Linked DNA regions of Homo sapiens: region 2 is linked to region 1. The links are contacts of gene promoters, found by promoter capture Hi-C in blood cells and fetal thymus (Javierre and others, 2016). All regions are on one chromosome and are shown on one strand. The core of a region is centred on a gene start or on the middle of the fragment in contact, and the rest is flanking DNA. Distances in the headings are between cores, read along the strand shown.

Region 1 (5,975 bases), core at 1-2,500:
AGGGGCAGCAGTGGTAGGACTACCTACCCAAGTCCAGATGCAGGCCAAGTATCGGGCGGAAGGGCTTGGGCACCACAATGGTCGTGTTGCCAAAGTTGGTGAAATAGACCATGAGGAGAGGTAGTGAGGCAGCTGTAGGTAGCAGCAGCTTATGGCGCCAGCGCAGATTCAGTACATCATCCGCAAAGCCCAGGAAGATCATGCAGCAGATGGCAAGGAGGGCACCTATCAGGGCCACAAACTGGGGGAGGCTCGGGCAGGTCCATGACTCAAGCCTGCTCCCATTCCACCTTTTAAGAATTCCTGTCTTTTCTGATAATTTCTTAGCCCCTCCCCACAAGCCCAAATAACCCCAGTTCTCTCAGGTACCTCCCAGGTCCCAGCCACAGGCAATCACCCCCACGAACCCACTTACTTCATGGTGGGGGAATGCCTTACACTGCTCCTTCACAAAGCAGTTCAGGAAGGGGAAAGGGATGAAGCAGAAGAGGATGATAAGGAAAACAGCACCGCTGATCACTCCCTGGGATTCTGGGCTGTGGCCCAGCAGCAAGGGGGCGAGGGGGAAGAGGAAAGGGGGCGTGGTCACTCACTAGTGCAGGTGTTACAGTAACCCAAAGTGGTCTTCTCATTCCCGGTTTTTTATTCTGGTAAGTGGTGAGGGGGGCGGAGGGAGGAAAGCACCACTGCCAGAGTCCCAGATATACCCAAGGGTCCCTACCCATCCTTTCCCCAATGCGAGTAAGTTCTGCTCATCACCTCTCCGAGTTCCAGGCTGCCTGGGTTAGTTCTGAGTCTTCACGTGTGGTCAAGCACCCCGGTTCCCGCCCCTGCCCTAGCCACTCCTTCCTTAGCCCTTGCCCCCTGCCCGGACCCGTGTGCCGCTGCTCACATCTGCTGTCGGCTGGTTTTGTTGAGGTCCTGACCACAGAGGCGCGCAGCAATGAAGTGGCCCCGGAAGGCCGGGATGAGGGTGACTGTGGCCACAAATCCCAGCAGCGAGACGATCAAATTGATCAGCAGCGGCATGGGCAATTCCGAGAAGGCCCACATGGTGACCGGTCAGGGGCCCGGCTCCGCCGCCTCTTCAGGTAACGGGCAAGCTGAGCAGCAGTCCTGAGGCCTCAGCAGTATGGAGTGGCCGCTCCCCACAGGCAGGCTCTTCCCACACCAATCTGAGCAAAACCCAGCAACTCTGACTTGAGCCGCCGTCGGGACACCGGGGAACCTCTCTAAGGCAACCTATGTTCTGCCCCGCTGCACCCGCCTATCTACTGTTTCCGCCCGGATCTTGTTCGCTGAACAACCATTACTGCGGAAGGCGGCGGCCGCCATTTTTAATATGGGCATTAGAGGGTGGGGATGGAAGTGGAAGAGAAGTGTGATTCCAAATTTCATCCTATGTTCAAGAGTAGAATCACCGAGAGAGTACTGGAAACGCAATTAAAGAAAGGCAGCCAAGAACGGATACTTCCCTAACATTATGTTAAAGATGTACTACCCAGAGCGGAAATGCCAATTGCCCGGTTCCAAGATGAATGCCTCCTTGTACCACGTGTCTGACACCGCTCACATTCCGGTTCCACGTCAGTTTTAGCTCCGTCCGCCTCCATAGGTCAAGCTTAAAGGGCCCGTACCTCTCCCTTAATCTGGGATGCCTCCGGCTCCAGGAAGATGGCTATTGAAAGGCAGGGGGTGGGGAGGAGGGACGAGGGTGTGGAGACGCGCCTGTTTCTTGCAGGAAACCTGTTGCCAACATAGTCGGAAGCCAAGGTAAACACAACTCAGTTCCCGGAAACAAAGCTACGATTTGGAAGGATGGTGTAAATTCTAAAGCGTAGATCCTTGAAAAGCCCCTCCCACTCTGTTTTTCTTGTCCTCGATTCTGGTATTTTTTTCTCAGCATCCCACCCACCTTCTGCCCCAGCTGTAGCAGTTAGTTGCCCGGCAACCCAGCGCAGCACTTCACTGAGGGATTGGGAGTACCCTCAGGTCTTGGATTTAACTCGAGACTTCAGCTTGGCCGTGGATCACTGCATTGTACCTAGCTCCCACAAGGAGGAGATGGAGATTTCCAGGCTGAGGCTCTGGAAAGAGCTGAGGAGGGAGAGGAATCAGACCCACAACTGATTTCCTGTGAGTCTGAGGAACTCCCAGTCAGGTTTCTTCCTGTAGGTCACTGTGCATTTTGCTTGGCCTCCTGCAGGTTGCTGTGCATTTTGCTTGGCCTGTTCCCCTGCAAACAACAATTCACCAGCTTTTTTTTTTTTTTTTTTTTTTTTTTTTTGAGACAGAGTTTCGCTCTTGTTGCCCAGGCTGGAGTGCAATGGCGCGATCTCGGCTCACCGAAACCTCCACCTCCCAGGTTCAAGAGATTCTCCTGCCTCAGCCTCCCGAGTAGCTGGGATTACAGGCAGTAGCTGGAATTACAGGCATGCGCCACCACGCCCGGCTAATTTTGTATTTTTAGTAGAGACGGGATTTCCCTATGTTGGTCAGGCTGGTTTGGGACTCCCGACCTCAGGTGATCTGCCCGCCTTGGCCTCCCAAAATGCTGGGAGTACAGGCGTGAGCCACCACGCCCAGCCAGTTCACCAGCATCTTTATTACCTTTCATTCCCCGACAGGCTCTTAGGCGGCAAATGATTTCCATTTGTCAGAGAGGAAGTCACCACCAGTGAGTTAGGGAAAGGACTCCAATAGCCTAGCGCTTTGTCCACTCTTCCCTCTATGGCATGTTCCAGGAGTCAGGGTCATGTTGACCGTTTTTAAGCCGAAGATAGTTTCTTCTTTCCCTCAAAATCAGATGTGAGGCCGGGCGCAGTGGCTAACGTCTGTAATCCCAGCACTTTGGTAGGCGAAGGTGGGTGGCTCACTTGAGGTCAGGAGTTCGAGACCAGCCTGGCCAACACGGTGAAACCCCGTCTCTACTGAAAATACAAAAATTAGCCGGGTGTGGTGGCACATGCCTGTAATCTCAGCTACTCAGGAGGCTGAGGCAGGAGGATCGCTTGAACCTGGGATGAGGAGGTTGCAGTGAGCCGCGATCATGCCACTGCATCCCAGCCTGGGCAACAGAGGGGAAACTGTCTCAAAACAAACAAACAAACAAACTAAATCAGATGTGAAATGGCTTTTCTACTTGAAAATGGCTCTAATTAACAACAACAAAAACCCAGATATGTATAAAATACATAAATTTTCGTAATTTACTTGCTAGTATTCCACCAGATTTTCAGTACTTATCCCACTGCTATTATTTTTCTGTGTGTGTTGTGTGTATGCACGTGTGCCCCTTTTAAACTAGAAACTCCCGGGAGGCAAGTGTTTTCTCTTCCACAGGGTGTCCCCATGGGGCTAGGAACACAGACATCTGTGTACAAGGAAGGCATCATCACACATAATGAGGCTGAGGCTGAAAGGAGGACTGAGGGCAATAGGTGCATATGGAGGGAGCAATTAGTTGTGACCAGAGTAAGTGGTCTTGAGGAAGAGAAGTATCATTTCAGTAGATTATAAGAGTAGAAGGACCTTTCACAGGCAGCGACAGTGAGACACCAGAAGCTGGTGGAAAGGAGGAGCTTGTGGGATCCCAGAGGAGGCAGCATTCAGTTATCTTGTTGATGACGAGTATACTGAGACTCCCTGGAGGTCTGAGAGCCAGTCTGTATCTATTTCCTTTTTTATTAGGAGGCCAATCCTAATAAATCTTCCTTCCCAGCCTGGTATTGGGAAGCTTTATCTCTTTCTTCTCCAGAGATCATTAGCCCTCCCTACCACCACCCTCCTGGGGAGGGTGGAAGGATGTAATCAAAGACAAGAGAGACTAAGGATTCATCATCCACATATACATGTTACTATCAGAAAATGGTTACTAAGATACTTGTCAGATAATCTGAGTATTTTTGTTCCCATGATGATAAAGTCCCAGTTGATGATCAGACTAATCAGAAGGAGAAACAAACACATGACTTTTGGCTTCACTTGAAATTGTGTGCCTTCCCTGGTAAAAGTTCAAAGCGTTTTCCTGAATGCTGAAGCCGGCCCTAGGATTCACAGACCAGTTGACTTGTCAGTGGCCCTGGACTGAGCAGACAGTGTTTGAGATGCACACCTCTTCTAAGTAGCCTTGAGTGGCTCCCAATGAGCAAGGCCAATCCACTGAATGTGATTGCTAGACAAAGCCTGTCCCAAAAATGTTTCATAGTGCCACAAAGACAATGAGACCCCTCTGGATAGTCTGGGGCTGTGATACTTGCAGGACTCTATCTGTGGCTCTGTCCAGTCAGCTGAATCACTCTTTTTCCTTTTCCTCCCACCTCTCCCCTCTTAGTCTAGAAAAAAGTTGTTAATTAAAAGCAAGCCCCAGGATTTCCCATTCCACTGGTATGGCATGAATGATATTTCAAAAGACAGAAATGGCATAGAAATTCTCAAAGCATACTTGAGTATTTTCTGTTAGACTTCTTAAAATTACAAAGTTTGTTAATCCCTACTATGTGCATAGGAAGCTCTTCAGTACTGTGGAGGATACAAACTAATATAATTGCAGTTGCTTGCCCCCAGGGAGTCTACTTCAGCATATTTGGAGCATCTTGGTTGAATTTGAGGGAAAAGAGATGACTAAGACATGGTTCCCACCCCTAGGCAGCTTCCTGATGCATGGAAAAAGCAGACATATAAACAATCAGCTAGACTCTAAGGCAGAATGTAAGTGCTAGAGGTCTAAGTAATGGAAGAAAGAAGGAGGACTAGGCTGGGCACAGTGGCTCTCACCTGTAATCCCAGCACTTTGGGAGGCCGAGGCGGGAGGATCACCTGAGGTCAGGAGTTCGAGATCAGCCTGGCCAACATGGTGAAACCCTGTCTCTACTAAAAATAACAAAAATTAGCCAGGCATGATGGCGCATGCCTATAGTCCCAACTACTTGGTAGGCTGAGGCAGGAGAATCACTCAAACCTGGGAGGTGGAGGTTGCAGTGAGCCAAGATCTCGCTACTGCACCCCAGCCTGGGCAACAGTGACTTTCTGTCTCAAGAAAAGAGAAAAAAAAAAAAAAAAAGAGGGAGGACTAACTAGGGAGACTCATGTAACTAGGTAGACTCACAGTTCAGATACTGAATTGTGAAGCAGTATCTGGCAGCATAGGACCAAGCACTCAGTGGAGAAGTTGAGGGAATAAATCAAAGAAGTCAGAGAATGGAGATCACTAGGGGGTCTGAGGGTTCCTGAAGGATTCTTGGGGGAAGAGGGTCTTCATAGGGAAAGCTTCTACCTGGACAACTTCCTGCATAACCTGCTCCCCTAAACCCTAGCTGCTCTTCCCACTGACAGCTTCCTCCTGCATCCCTGGTTCTGGCCCTGAGTTCTCTCCTCCCTTGATTTCATGTCTTCTCCTCCCTTTGAGATTAGAAACCCAGACTCTAGGAATCTCCACTGATTTGGCAGTCCAGTGACAATGCATGGGCAGGGCCACAGGAGGTTACCTCATTCACCCCCACCTCTCCCCATCATTCCTTACAGGGAAATCTAGGGAGGCCCAGGCTACCCCACCACCTCCTCTGGCTCAGACAAACCTGTTGCTGACCTGTCAGTTTCTGTCTAGCCCTGCCATCCCACACTTCAGAAGGCATTGTTTATTCTCTTATTCTCATGTGCTCATTCCTCAGACAACTACTTGGGTTTGGGAGAAAGATACTTAACACCTTTCCATCCTACCTCTTTAAGAAAGGGACTGTGTGCCAAAGACCTTCCCACATGTATGAAGAAGGGGCTCTTGGGAGAATGTGAATTCCCCCAGGATTCCTTTGAATCCTTTTGCAGGTATTTCCTTCCCCTGTCCTCAGCAAGCATTGATGAGCCCCAGTCCTGTAGAGGTTGAATCAACTCCTTGAGTCTAGGAAAAGATGGCTTCTGAGGCCAGAGGTTGGGCAGTGTACCTACAGCACCATTTCTTGGGAGCTTGTTGGGATATC
Region 2 (7,515 bases), core at 4,708-7,207, 2.0 Mb before region 1:
CTCAAAGGTAGATCAGACCAGCCCAGCAGAACAAATGTATAATTACCAATATTCCCTAGGAGTTAGCTAGATATAATGACATGAGAAAACTACGTAAGGCAGACTACTTTTACGGTCATTGCATGCTGTGTTTACTTCTTTCCCTTTTCATTTTCTTCATATCTCAGTCATGCCAAGGGGCATCTGACTAGCAGATTTAAAGGCAAAGCAGTGGACCCATAGGGTACTAAAAGTTAGTGGCAAAGGTGACAGAGTGGTATAATGCCAAAGGACAGGTGAAATACAGGGTTGGAATATTTACTCTTCCTCTCTACTCGGAAATGTTTCCTCTCATCATGACATCTCGCTTTTGGTTTGTCTTATAGAAAGGATAAATATCTTAGACTTTAATTGGTATAGGTGTATCTCGCTTCCCCAGTAAAAAAGCAAGTGCTCAGAAGGCAAGGGCACTGTTTTCTGTGATTAGAGAAGTCAGGGTAGAATTAAGTAGGAGTAGTGATAACTGGATTCTAACTCCAGCTCCCCCACTAACTACCTATAAGACTCCGGGAAAATGGGAGTGAGGAGAGAGATGAGCCATGAATCTAATGGATAATTGGTCTAAATGACTTTAAAAGTCCGTAAAATCCTGAGGTTTTTTTTTTCTTTTTTTTTTTTTTTTTTTTTGAGACGGAGTTTCACTCTTGTTGCCCAGGCTGGAGTGCGACGGCACGATCTCGGCTCACTGCAACCTCTGCCTCCTGGGTTCAAGCAATTCTCCTGCCTCAGCCTCCCAAGTAGCTGGGATTACAGGCATGTACCACCACGCCTGGCTAATTTTTTGTATTTTTAGTAAAAACAGGGTTTCGCCATGTTAGCCAGGCTGGTCTCGAACTCCTGACCTCAGGTGATCCACCTGCCTCAGCCTCCCAAAGTGCTGGAATTACAGGCGTGAGCCACCATGCCAGGCAAAACCTGAGATTATAAATTCTGTTAAGTCTGTCTTTCCAGACTGTGGAGAAGACAGAACTAGAATAGAACCTCTCTAAGGTCTTTTTCATGCCCAATAAATCAACAAATACTTGTTAGTTGATCATGCTTAATTTATGTGCAATTTATGTCAATATTCCTCTACAGTGAGAAAGAATATAAGTTGTTAAAACTGAACTCCTCCCTTGTGCCAAGAAATGCATCAGAAAAGGATTCTTGCTCTTAACCATAAAATAACCAGCATGAGTTGCTGTTTTTCTTTTGGTTTGTTTTCCTGAGACAGGGTTTCACTCTGTCACCCAGGCTGGGATACAATGGTGTGTCCATAGTTCACCACAGCCTCAGACTCCCAGGATCAAGTGATCCTCCCGCCTCCACCTCCCAAGTAGCTGAGGCTACAGGTGCGCACCACCACACCCAGCTAATTTTTAAATTGTTTGTAGAGATGGGATCTCACTATGTTGCCCAGGCTGGTCTTGAACTCCTGGCCTCAAGTGATCCTCCTGCCTCATGCCCCCCCAAAGCACTGGAATTACAGGCATGAGCCACCACATCCAGCCACGTTTTAAAAACATAAATTAGGTGATATTAGTGTTCTGCTTGATACTCTCTGATGTCACCCCCGTGTCACACCCAATTCCATAAAATGGCCATAAGACCCAGATGATCTGGCCCCTCCTACATGTCTGGCCTCATCTTTTCCCATCCTTCCACTTGTTTGCTAAGGTACCATGGCATCATGACCTTGTGTCTAATCTTTGACCAAACCAAACTCACTTCTGCCCCATGGCCTTTGCACATGCCATTCCTTCTGTAAGGAATCTTCTGTCTTCCAAATCTTCCCAGGTTGGCTTTTTCTCATCACTCAGGTCTCAGCTCAAATATCATCATCTTGGAAAGAAAGGTCTTCCCTGACCACTCTATCTGAGGCAGCAGCCCCCCCCAGGGATTCTCTAGTCCGTTTATTTTCTTCCTGGTATTCATTCCTATATGAAATTTTTAATTTTTTTACATGTCCCTTGTCTGTCTCCTTCTACTAGAAAGCTCCAGAAAGGCAGATGCTTTTTGTCTCCCTTGTTCATTGGTGCACTCCAGACCCTAGAATGGAACCTGACAAAAAATTTTCATTCAATAAATGTGTTGAATGAATAAATGATTAAGGGAAAGGTTCCATCTCTATGCAGATGTCTTAGGTGTTGTTTTACAGTTACAGTGGCTCTGGTGAGTAGAAAGCATTTCTTTTTCTTTTCAAAGCATCCATTTTGTTCTCTTTTACGCGATGAACTAGAAAACATTAGCCAGACTGAAGCCTGAAAAATGAAAACAGCACTTCTGGCACAGAAATAACTAGTCTGGGCACCTCTGGCTTGAGCGAGATCTATGACTTTCTAGGGAGCTGGCACCAAAGTCAAAATGTTAAAATAAACATCTTTGATGTAGAAAATGGAATACTGGTATTTTGACTCTGGAGAGACTAGTCTCAATCAGTCTTAGCTCTTTACAAAATTTCAAAAACGTTTAGCAACCCCATCACCACTGTATCAAACTGAACATAATCATCTTTCAATAGTCACTTCTAGATTGTCTAGGGATGGGGCTATCTTCCTCAAATGTATCTAATGTAAATTCTGCTTTCAATTTCTTTTTGACATAATTCTCTCCTACTTACCAAATGAATCTTGTTTTCAGTTTTCTAATGGGTGAAAGCATCATCTCATGTGCTTCGTTAAACTCTTCTTTAGAGGTGAAAATAATGCTTTTAGCCCACTTTGACTTGTTCTCCTCATGGAAATGAGTTTGCACTAAACCACACCGATGTGTCTGGCTAGTCAATATTTGGAAAGGGGTCATAGGGCAAAATGTCTTCTCTGTGTAATATTTAAAGTTAAGAATTCTGACCTTGGCCGTCTAAGGCCTTTGCTTGTGCACGCAAGGGCAAATGTGTCCTTAAGCTTGCAGAAACATTTCTTAAATATTTCACTTAAACCTAATTTAAGTGGACCTCTGGAGAAAAGACTGCACTCAACTCTGTTCCATCATCAACATAACAAAAATTAGTTACACAAAACACACTGAAAATTCAAGGCAGCCCAAAGCAAAAGCCAGTGTTGGTCACAGTTTTCATTAGATAAGTCACATTGCTATTTAAAAAAAAAAAAAAAAGTTTAACTAATGAAAATTTATGTTTTAAAATGCTGATTTCATGAGATTAGCCAGCCTGTACCCTATACAAATTAAATCCAACTATCTCAAAGTGGCACCTGCAATAGTAGCAAACTTTTTTTTTACCAGGAAAGTCTATCGTCAGGATGGCATCTACCTACACAAAACTAATGGCATATACATTCATGAATCGTGCCCAAGGGGTGAGAAGCAAAAAAAGGAGGACTATTATTATGTCCATAATATTATTATGTTACTAAAACATCTGATAACGATGATGATGATGGTAATATTTACGTCATGCTATTAGGGCACCATGCTGCTCTAAGAGCTTTACATACACTATCTTCTTTAATCTTCATAACACCTAAACTTGTGAGGTAAGTACTACTGTCATCCCACTTTACAGATGAGGAAACCCAAGCACACAGAAGTTAAATAACTTCTCACAGCCTAAAAATATCCAACTATTAAGCAGCAAAAGATTCAAACTCAGGTTGCTTTATCCAAAGCTGGAACTCTTACCACAAACCAATAACAGGCAAGTGATATATATTTGTTGAAATATAGTTTAAACGTATTTGGCCAAAGGCTTTTATAGTCATGCATACTTTAAAAAATGCATATGGGCCAAGCATTTGGGTTACAGACTCATGCCTGTAATCCCAGCACTTTGGGAGGCTGAAGCAGGAGGATCACTTGAGTCCAGAAGTTCAAGACCAGCCTGGGCAACATAATGAGACCCCCATCTCTACAAAAAAAATTTAAAAATTAACCTGGTGTGGTGGTATAAGCCTGTAGTCCCAGCTACTTAGGAAGCTGAGGCAGGAGGATCTCTTGAGCCTGGGAGTTGGAGGTTACAGTGAACTCTGGCAGTGTCACTGCACTCTAGCCTGGGTGACAGAGTAAGACCCTGCCCCAATATTTTAAAAAAGGAAAAAAAATGCATACAAAATCTATCTACTCTTTGTTCCCAATCATCCAACTAGTGAAGGTATAATTAGGCACAGGCAACAGACTACCTGCAATTTGAGAGCAGAAAACATTCTTTTTTAAAAATATCTGTAATACTTTATAGTTTCCTACCAAAAAAAAAAACAGAGCCAGAGAACCTCAGGCTAAGTAAGGCTCTTCCAAAGAAAAGGAAATCAAAGCAGGTAGGACAAAGACAGCCAGGGTGAGCTACTAACCAAAGTATGTCACAGCTGAACATTCTCTCCTGGTAACTGTTCTGCAGTGCCGCTCTAAGCACTGCAGTGCTGCCAATATGAAGTCTGAGCTCATGAATGCCGTGCTGCAAAAGTAACCAACAACCAAATAGGAAAAGCTTCACTTTTCTCTACTGATTTTATTCATCCCAGGATCCCACTCTAGACGGTTTGAGAGTTAACAGAATTTGGGAAAGGGCCAGCTTAACCACGCAGTATTGGATGGAGTGCAGTATCCTACTCAATAAATGAGGTTTACTTTAGTCTCTTAGTTCTTGGAATGGGTCATGTGTGTTTAAAAAAAAAAAAAAAAAAAAAAAGGAGGGGGATCATAATTATTTCTAATGTTCAGAAAATACCTATTACCTAACCTCCTTCAGCCAACACAAGTATCATCTGAATTACCTCTGTCTGACTGTTATATATGGTTATAAGAAAACCCAGACCATTTCCTACAAGGGGAAAAAAAAATCACACACCTCTAAAAGACAAAACAACAAATGACACATTCTGGAGACAGATGGGGGAAAAAAATAACTCTCTGTTTCCAAATGACCCCTCTGCAGAAGTAAGATAAAGGCTGCAGTGCATGGGGAGAAAAAAAATCAACCTGAGTTAACTGAAGCAGCAGCTTCGGCAACTTCTAGTACCTATGCACCTTCACCATTGTTATATAACCAAACCATAACCTTAATAGGCCATCGTACTGTATGTCGACAGCTGTTAGGCACATCTAAGCTGTCCGCATTTGAGAACCCCTTCCAAAGTGGATTCAGAGAAGCATGGAGCAGGCCAAAATATGCTCCTAGTTCACCCAGAGCACGTGACAACTCCTTGTGAATTAAGCTTCACTCATGTAGTCAGAGTAATTTAAGCAGCAAAAGATATAGCACTTGTAACTGTAACTAGGAAATTGCACACTGCTACAGAAACACAAATGAATGCTGGTGTGGCTCCTTCACACATGCAACTCATTGTCCAAGCCATTTCAGTCTCATTCAAGACTTTGAATATTTCCATACATAGGAATTGCACAACTGCATACCACAAATGATCAAAGATAAAAACCAACATAAACAGTGACACCCGTTTGTAAACAAGCCAGTGTTTAAAATGCTGCAGTCCTAAAGGATACCAAGGTCTCAGAGAAAAACTATGAAAAACACACGCACGCACATATACACACACATGAAAATTAGAAAGCGGGCAGACCAGCCATAATTAGGCACTGGCTTTGCTGACTACTGAAGATAGAAATGTCTCTTTTATATTAAAGCCAAGAATCAACTGTTTGCAATTACATTTACGAAAACATTCAACCCTGTCTGTAACAGATTTTATCAATATTTTGGTGTATCCAAGGGCTGGAAGATTCAAAATTCTTTAAATCATGAAACCATAAACCAGGCAACCAATTAAGTTCATGGAGACTATCCCCCAGAGGTCAGAGCAAAATAACCACAGGAGCACAAAGTGATTACACAGAAAATAGGCAGAAAAAAAGGAAAGAAATAGCAAAACAAGGAACAAGGCATATTGTTTGTAAATGTAAGTTTGCCTTGGCTAATAGTCAACTAGACTGGAAACACGGTGAGGGGCTGGGGTGGCAAGTGAGGAGCACACCAAAGTCTTGGCTCAATCGACTTCCCCTGACTTCCCCTCAGGGTCTGAGGGAGCCCTGGACTTTGGTATCTCATTCAGCTCTGACCTGCAGACTGGAGGCCCTGTGATAAAAACGGACAAAAAGGCTGAAGAGGGCCCTCCAGAGGAAGTGAAACTGACCAATCAATTCGCCACAGCCACCCACCCTGACACCCTGGTAAGAAGGGCCCCTTGTAGCCTCAGGCAGAAAGATGGTGGGGAAGGAACTTCAGGTTGCAAGTGATCAGGAGAGAAGGCCTAGATAAGTCACTGGCTTCAGAAAACAAGCCACTGCCAAAAAAGCAAAAACAAGGTAGGTCATGACAACCAGAGGCTAGGCTGAGGAGGTGAGGGGAATTGATGTGGCTTTGGTAGGAGGCGGCAGCAGCTGTAAGGGTTCTTCATTCCTCAGGCTGAGGGAAAACACAAGCTGCAGTTCTAAACATAATGAATGACTACATTAAAAGTATTCATTCAAGTAAGATATTGAGCAAAGAAAATTTTAGAGTAAAAATGGGCTTTGCGGGTTCCACCAAAACCAAAAGATTCCTCCTGATGTCTTAGATTCCAGTCCTCCCAACGAAGGCTACATGAAAGTGCTACCATATTTCCTCAAAGAATTTTACATGCATACATATATAGCTTCCTAATTGACCTTGGCCAATTTCACTCCTATAGCGCCTCAAATCCCTTTGAGAACTAAGGGCTCGATGAGTGTAATCTCCCGGTGTCTGGGTTCTTCAATCACAAGCTTCCCCCCAACCAGTAAAAGCCCACCCTGGGTTCTACAAAGCCCACAATTCCCGACCCTCCAACAACTAAAAATAACCAGCAATCAGCTCTCCCAAATTGTTTAACCCCTGACTACCTAGTGCCATCATAAACCTGGGACAGCCCCCACCCCCACCTCACTCCCCCATTCCCTGGGCCCCTTCCTGTGGACAAGCAAAGCAATTTCCCCCTTATTTCCCCATTTTCCTCATTGCCTCCTCCACTAATCGTGTCTCCTCGGGATCCCCTTCGCACCATCTATCAGTCTTAGATGATCAAATGCGGATTCCTGTCTCTGTCTTAAGGCACCAGGATCCTGGGACCTCCCAGCGCCCTGCAGACGTGCACATTCCCAGTCCGTGCCCCAGCCGTCCTGGGTCCCCTTACAAGCCCGGGTCTGCCACTTCACCCTTGTTTTTCCCCATCCTCCGGGTCCACATTTCATATGCCCCTGCCCTCATTCCCTTATGATTCCCTAGCTGCTGGTTCCAGAGTCTTCTGGGCTTACAGTCTCCCGGCCCTCGGGGAGTTCCGACCCCTTCTTTCCAATCATCCCCTTTACCCGCCTGCCCTCAGCCCCGAGGACCCCTCCCCGCGCCCGGCTCCTGGGCGCCGGTGCTCTGTGCCCTCGGCCCCCTGCTTGGAGTTCCGCCGTCTCGAGTCCCAGGTGTCCCTAGCTCCGCGCCCGCCCCGCCGCGGCTGGCTCCCTCCCGCCTCCCGGCCCCCAACGCTCCCACCACGCGCCGCGCTCGCCGCCCCGACC

Evidence for each region. The method cuts DNA at HindIII sites, captures the fragments that hold promoters and counts their contacts. A CHiCAGO score of 5 or more calls a contact.
Region 2: a fragment that was not itself captured here is called in contact with the fragment with the promoter of DPAGT1 in region 1 in 1 of 17 cell types (monocytes); the score reaches 6.5 in monocytes.

What each region holds. Positions count from the first base shown.
Region 1 is chr11:119,100,603-119,106,577 of GRCh38, forward strand. DPAGT1 (dolichyl-phosphate N-acetylglucosaminephosphotransferase 1) reads right to left here and starts at 1,251. Exons shown (of 9, transcript NM_001382.4): 1 at 893-1,251; 2 at 416-536; 3 at 28-241. The coding sequence starts at 1,053. It also overlaps a transcript of C2CD2L not described here. RefSeq lists enhancers at 379-1,092, 904-2,103, 1,286-1,595, 1,807-2,519. The HindIII fragment of the contact is 9,998 bases long and covers 1-1,619 here.
Region 2 is chr11:117,090,556-117,098,070 of GRCh38, forward strand. The region is part of intron 1 of SIK3 (SIK family kinase 3); the gene reads right to left. Among named protein-coding and RNA genes, the nearest start is that of SIK3, 4.1 kb to the right of the region's middle. RefSeq lists an enhancer at 6,381-6,430. The HindIII fragment of the contact is 1,546 bases long and covers 5,185-6,730 here.